Linked DNA regions of Homo sapiens: region 2 is linked to region 1. Evidence: promoter capture Hi-C in 16 types of primary human blood cells and fetal thymus (Javierre and others, 2016). All regions are on one chromosome and are shown on one strand. The core of a region is centred on a gene start or on the middle of the fragment in contact, and the rest is flanking DNA. Distances in the headings are between cores, read along the strand shown.

Region 1 (3,295 bases), core at 575-3,074:
GAACCAGACTAAAGACAGAGCAAGGAAAGCAAGGCCAGACAGGGTATACGTTCAAGCTCAATACAGGAAGGATGAGAACTGAGCCTAAGACAAAGCAGAACCAAACAAGGGAAGTGGGTGGTGGGTAGGCAGGGATCCAAGATCCATTATGAGCCTGAATCCTTTAGCCTAACATCAAAGCCCCTCACTACCGGCTGCCCAGGCTTCTGCTCCAGCTTACACCTGTAATCCCAGCAATTTAAGAGGGCAAGGTGGGAGGATTGAGCAAACCCAGGTACTCGAGACCAGCCTGGGTAACATAGCAAGACCCCATACAAAAAATTTAAAAGTTAGTGAGGTGTGGTGGCACATGCCTGTGGTCTCAACTACTTGGGAGGCTGAGGCAGGAGGATCGCTTGAGCCTAGAAGGCTGCAGTGAGCCATGTTTGTGCCACTGCACTCCAGCCTGGGTGACAGAGAGAGACCATTTCAAAATATAATAATAGTACCACAAAAAAAAAAAAGTGTGTAGCTATTTACATAGCATTTACACTGTATCAGGTTTTATAAGTAATCTAGAGATTATTTAAATTATATGGAGGGCGTGGTGGCACGTGCCTGCAGTCCCAGCTACCTGGGAGGCTGAGGTGGGAGGATTATCTGAGCCCAGGGAGTTCGAAGATGCAGTGAGCTATGATTGCACCACTACACTCCAGCCTGGGAGACAAGAGTGAGACCCTGACTCAAAAAAAAAAAAAGAAAAGAAAAAAGAGTATACAGGAGGGTGATGTGGTGGCTCACACCTGTAATCCCAGCATTTTGAGAGGCCAAGGAAGGAGGATAGCTTGAGCCAGGAGTTTGAGACCAGCCTGGGCAACATGGTGAGACCCTGTCTCTACAAAAATGAAATAAAATAAAAATTAGCCGGGTATGGTTGTTTATGCCTGTGGTTCCAGCTACACAGGAGGCTGAGGCAGGAGGATCCCTTGAGCCCAGGAGGTCGAGGCTGCAGTGAGCCATGTTCCTGCCACTGCACTCCAGCCTGGGTCACAGAATGAGACCTTGTCTCAAAAAAAAAAAGTATACAGCAATCCCCTGCGGATACTGAGGGATAAATGTATCTAACACACACACTCACACACGTGGGCTACTAGAAAGGCAGTGACTGCGAATTGCTACTTCCCAGCCACTGTGAGAGATGTGGAAACCCCTGCTCCAGGACAACCACCACTTCCCCAACTTGGCAACCTCTCCTGCTCACCATCTAGCACCTGCTTCCAAATACTTCAAGGACAGCAGGAAGTTCTTTTCTGACAAGATTTGGCCTAATTTTTAAATAGCACTCAGCACTTTTTGGCAGGCCTAGGGCTACTTCCAACATCCCATGGCTTTCCTTTTTTAATTTTACCAACTTTTTAAATACACTTTGTACTTTGGGCAGCCCGGGTAAGCGTTCAGTGTGAGGAGCTGACACGGCCATCATTTAAACTAGATTAAACGACACTGGACAAATAATCGCAGAGCAGCACAAAGTCGGGCTGGACGGGTACAGATGCAAACCCTCCACTCAGGGCTCGGGGGTCCCTCCTGCTCCAGGCGGCCCCACCCGTACAGCCGGGAAAGTGAGGTCGCACAGATGGACGGCCGCCTACCCACGCACAGTCGCAAACAGAGCTTCATGGGCACACAGGGGAAAATAAGGACACACACAGACAGCCGTGGACCCACGCTCGCGGACACAGCTCCCCGAACCTCCCCTCCCGCGCCGCCGCGAGAACCCAGCTTCCCAGCCCCCTTCCACTGCTCACCCGCGCCAGGCGCGTCTCGGGGCCGCTCCCAAATATCGCGGTATCTCTGCCGCTCTCCCGCGGAATCTGACTGGCACGCCTCACGAGAGCACCGGGCTGGCTGTATGTCGCGCAGCCTTCTGGGAGCTGTAGTCCACTTCTCTGCCTTCCGGGAGTTGTAGTCCACTGGGGAAATCCTGGAGCAAACCCTGGCCCTGTTCTTTGTATTGCTGGGACTCTCGATAGGGGCTGGCATAACTGTCCGACCTCCTTTCCTCACTCCTATCAGCCCCACACACACTGCTTGTTGCTTGGGGCCTTTTTTTTTTTTTTTTTTTTTTTGCTGTTGTCCCAGGTTTATTGAAAATATTACAGTATCTCAAAAAGATTCAAACAGCTTCCACGTGGCGTTTTGAAATTCATCCCCACTGTTGGCTGAGTGACCTGCAGGTTGGACAGACTGCCAAAGTCCAAAAACATCAGCATTTCCTTAATGTCAGGATATGTTAATACTTCAATGATTTCCTGATCCAGGGCTGAGACCTCAGGAACATGATTATCTCTCCTTTCTCTCTTCTCCTCCTGCAACTTGATGCAGATACCTCTCACTGAGCGCTTCAAATCAGCTTCATCACATGCATGTTGTAGCCTGCTATCTTGTTGGGGAGCTGTTTTTTTTTTTGTTTTTTTTTTTTTTTTTGAGACAGGGTCTGGCTCTGTCACCCAGACTGGAGTGCGCAGTGGTGCTATCTCCACTCACTGCAACCTCCACCTTTTGGGCTTAAGCCATCCTCCTATCTCAGCCTATGGAGTAGCCAGGACTACAGGAGTGCACCATCATGCCAGACTAATGTTTGTATTTTTTGTAGAGACGGGTTCTCACTCTATTGCCCAGGCTGGTCTCAAACTCCTAGGCTCAAACAATCCGCCCACCTTGGCCTCCCAAAGTGCTGGGACTACAGGAGTGAGCCACCACGCTCGGCCCTGGGGAGCATTTTGCTGGAAATAATGGTGATCTCCTTGCACATGTGTTGTTTGTGTGGAAGTTGCTGCCCGGGTGTGTGTATTACTTTTTTATGACGAAGTATAGAAAAGGGCTATCTTCATGGTATTAGTGTGAATGGGGCCCATGTTGGCAGGTCCTTAGTAAAAGAGGGCTCGTGGCACTTAATATTTACCAAGCCTCTTCTATTTTAGGTGCACAGGATACAGAGATAAATCAGATGCGTCCCTGTTCTTGAGACAAACAGGGACACAGAAAATGACAGGGTAAGATCCTCCATGAGGAAGCAACACCTCTAGGCAGGAAAGCCTTCTTGAAGGAGTGACTTGAAATGAATCTTGAAGGACAGCCAGGAGGTTAGATAGAGGATCCCAATAGCGATCCAGGTGGAAGGCATCAAATGGGCAAAGGGAAGGCGGCAGAAGAACACACACTGGCATGCTTCCCTGCCCCCTTCATTTTCTAGCCTTCACAGGCCCCAGGAACCTCTGTATTCATTGAGGTGGCTGAACCAGCTGCGGGTCCC
Region 2 (3,295 bases), core at 581-3,080, 990 kb after region 1:
CCAGCAGCAAACCTGCAGGAGCACCACAACCAAGAAAAAACAGAGCCTGCAGAGGAGAGGGAGGAGTGCCCAGAGCTGCATCCGAGCAGGCGATCTTTCCAGGAAAGACCGGGCCCAGCGCCGGTCAAGAATAATAACGACTAAACGCGACACTGCACCTAGAGGCACAGAGGCCACCCTGGTACTGGCGGGGAAGCGCAGGAGGTGGGGTGAAGAAGGGGCAAGGAGGGGGCTGAAGTGTAAACAAGGAGAGCAGAGGAAGGGGAGCCGACAGCTGGAGAGAGAAGTGGGTGGAGTTTTCTGAGATGAGAAAGACCTCATTCAGGGTGTTTAGTTCAGAAGGCAGTGGATACATTAGAAGATGCAAGAGAGATGAGGAGGAGGAGTGAGGCTCCCAGGGGGTCAAGGGCTGGGGCCAGGACACAGGGTGAGTCCTGGAGGCAGGTGGACATCCCTTCCACCCTAACGAGGGCAGGGAAGGGGTGCGATGGGGATCTGTAAATAGCAAGATGTCAACTGTCCCTATGCCATTGGAGAGCTCCTGTTTTCTCCCTGGAGCAGAAGGTGCCGCCATCAGCTGAGGGTGAGGCTGGGACAAGGGCCCAGTGAAGAAAGGCAGGCGGGGGCTGCCCTGCAGAGCAAAAGGACATGCTGGGCGGAGCACCAAGGAGCCCTTAGCAGTCACAGGCAACCACTCATAGTTTTCCCAGGCCTTTCTCCTGCAGATCTCGGTCTCCAGGTGGCAGCACAGAGGCGACAAGCTCCTGAGTCCTTCCAGGATTTTCTGCTGGGCAGGGAGCTGCAATTCTGATGAAAGATGGGATGAAATGGGGAGTGCGCGGGGCTGGAGGGAGGCGAAGGTAGGACTGAGAGCTCAAGGAACAGGAGGCTGCGGTCAGAGTCTGAGAGGACCGGCTGAGGGACCGACAGTGCTCGGTGATGGCAAGGTGCAGGGCACGGCCACGGGGCAGGCAGCTGTCTGGGGGAATGGGGTGACAACCCCTGAGAGGTTAAGGAGTGGCGGGCAGGTGGGTGGAAATAGAAGTCACTCAGGAGGAAGGCAGGACCTGAGCAGGGAGAAGAAATCTGGGAGGTGAATGCTCACGTCTGCCCTCAATGAGGGTGGGCAGGTGGGTGTCTGGGATGAGCTGGGGAGCATGGGGCCCACCCTGAGAGGGACAGAGGATCTTACCAGACGGCCAGGAAGGGGCTGGAACAGTCCAGGAAGCAGGGGGCCTTGACCCTACCTCCCACCTCTGATGCCCATGAGTGTGGGAGGAAGAGGGGACATGGTATCCCCAGAGGAGAACTGAGTTCCAGCATAGGGAAGAGAGAACAGCCTGCAGGGAGGAGCTGGATCCATCGGAGAACGCGATGGTCGTGGAATAAGGGTTCGCAAGGGTGATGGTTCAACAAGTGTTTATTGAGCAGCCACATCTGCCAGGTCTTGGGATAGCCAGTCCCTGTGCTCATGGGCTTAGATCCTGGCAGAGGCCTAGTGGAGAGGCTTGGGGTGGGGGTCGGGGCATGGAAGGCTGTGCTATTGGCCAGGGACTCAGAATACAGGAGAGTGCAAGGGTGACAGAAGTTTCTTTCTTGGGCAAAGAGGCCTGGAATGGTGGCTTGAATCTCAGCCATGCCTTAGCCTTCCCCTCTCAGCCAGAGAAGACCCAGGTCTCCCTGCCCAGAGGTCCATGCATAGCCATTCATTCGTTGATTCATTCCTTAACCAAGAATTAATGAGTGCTACTCTGTGCAGGGCCTGTAAGAGCATGGGCTGGAGGAGGCAGCTCAGGGGCCGGGCAGGGGTGTTGGCTGCAAGGTTACAAGAGAAGGGTAGCACTCTCAGAGGCCTGCTTGACGGGCGCCTGGGACTGGGCTGATGGGGGGCCTTTCTGGGGCACAGGGTGGTGGGAATGTAATTGGAGAGGCTTCCAGAGGCACTTGGACTTGAGAGGCCTCCATGGAGCCTCTGACAGAGTCCCCAGGGGGAACACCTGCTCCAAGAGTCTGGGCTCTGCTTTCCCCTGCCCCCACCACGGAAGACATGTCAAGCTGGGAAGCCATGGAGGAGAAGGGGAGGGCAAAAAAGTTGTTGAGCCACTGGGATAAATGGGAGGAGCCCCGGAGGGAGCGGCTGCGGGATCGCACAGCCCCTCGTATCCGGTGGGGTGGGCTGATGCCCCTTTGCAGCTGGGCAGGATGTTCCTGGGCATTGGCAGGATGGTTGAGGGGCCCTGTGATGGCAGGAGTGCTGGCTTGGACCACATGGGGAGACCAAGTCCGAATAGGGGCCCGATGCAATTGAGGGTGCAAGCGGAGGGCATGGCGAAGGCGGATGGCTCTCTGTGCTCTGTACAACAGGTAGCGGATCCCACGGTGGACGGCAGGGCGCTCCTGGTGATCAGGAGGCTCGCTGTGAGGCTCAGCATCGGGGGTGGCAGCCTGCTCAGCGGGCTGGTGGGGAGGCCAAGCTGGGGGGTGGTATGTGCCACAGGGCAGGCTGGAGGCTCCTTGTGCTCTCAGCAGAGACTGGACTGGCGAGGAGTGGGCTGGCGAGGAGTGGGCTGGCGAGGAGTGGGCTGGCGAGGACTGTGGCTCGGCGGTCTCCATGGGCTCCATGCACTTTCCAATACAGAACCTCAGACTGAGGGCTGGAAGAGACCTCAGGGGCCACCCAGTCCAACCTTTCACTCTATTCAGATCCCCTTTTCCCCTGGACAGGTGATAGTCCAGCCTCTAGTAATAAACCTCTAGGGACAGAAGGGTCACTACCCACGAGGCCACCTGTTTCACTGTGGAATGGATTTATATATCTTTCTACATGGATGGAGTCAAACCTCACTTGTTTGGCCCCTATATAGCTGCCCTGTGGCCTGACACCCCTTCACTGGCCCCCACTGGCTGTAATAAACCAAGGAATGGATTCTTGTCCAGCCCTCCTCACTGAGGACTTAGAGGACAGAAAATGCATAAGGAAGCTCCAGACAAAGGTCTTGGACATTCCAGAAAAGAGACAGGGCTCTGGACACATGCTATCAGCATTTCAGAAGAGCTCCTGGCCCTGGTGTAGTGGGAGGGCTGGGGTGGTCCAGGCATGCAGCTGTCATTTGGAGACTGTCCTCAGCACAGCTTGGGACTCAATGCCTCACTGGAAAATTCCCCAGGCGCAAGGCAAGTCTGAGAGTCACCTGCTGTGGCTGTGCCCCCTGGGACCTGAAATGGGGGGAGGCAGGAGTCCTGGGCTGAACTTCTGGGCCACTCACCGAGTTTTCGGCATCTGAGTCTTCCGAGC

Evidence for each region. The method cuts DNA at HindIII sites, captures the fragments that hold promoters and counts their contacts. A CHiCAGO score of 5 or more calls a contact.
Region 2: a contact is called between a fragment that was not itself captured here and the fragment with the promoter of PPCDC in region 1, in 1 of 17 cell types (total CD4 T cells). The highest score is 5.6, in total CD4 T cells.

Annotation. Positions count from the first base shown.
Region 1 is chr15:75,022,119-75,025,413 of GRCh38, reverse strand. It overlaps PPCDC (phosphopantothenoylcysteine decarboxylase), which reads right to left and starts at 1,824. Exons shown (of 6, transcript NM_021823.5): 1 at 1,788-1,824. The HindIII fragment of the contact is 7,713 bases long and covers 1-3,295 here.
Region 2 is chr15:74,034,502-74,037,796 of GRCh38, reverse strand. PML (PML nuclear body scaffold) reads right to left here. Exons shown (of 9, transcript NM_033238.3): 7 at 3,267-3,295. Among named protein-coding and RNA genes, the nearest start is that of PML, 41 kb to the right of the region's middle. RefSeq lists an enhancer at 1-706. The HindIII fragment of the contact is 8,663 bases long and covers 1-3,295 here.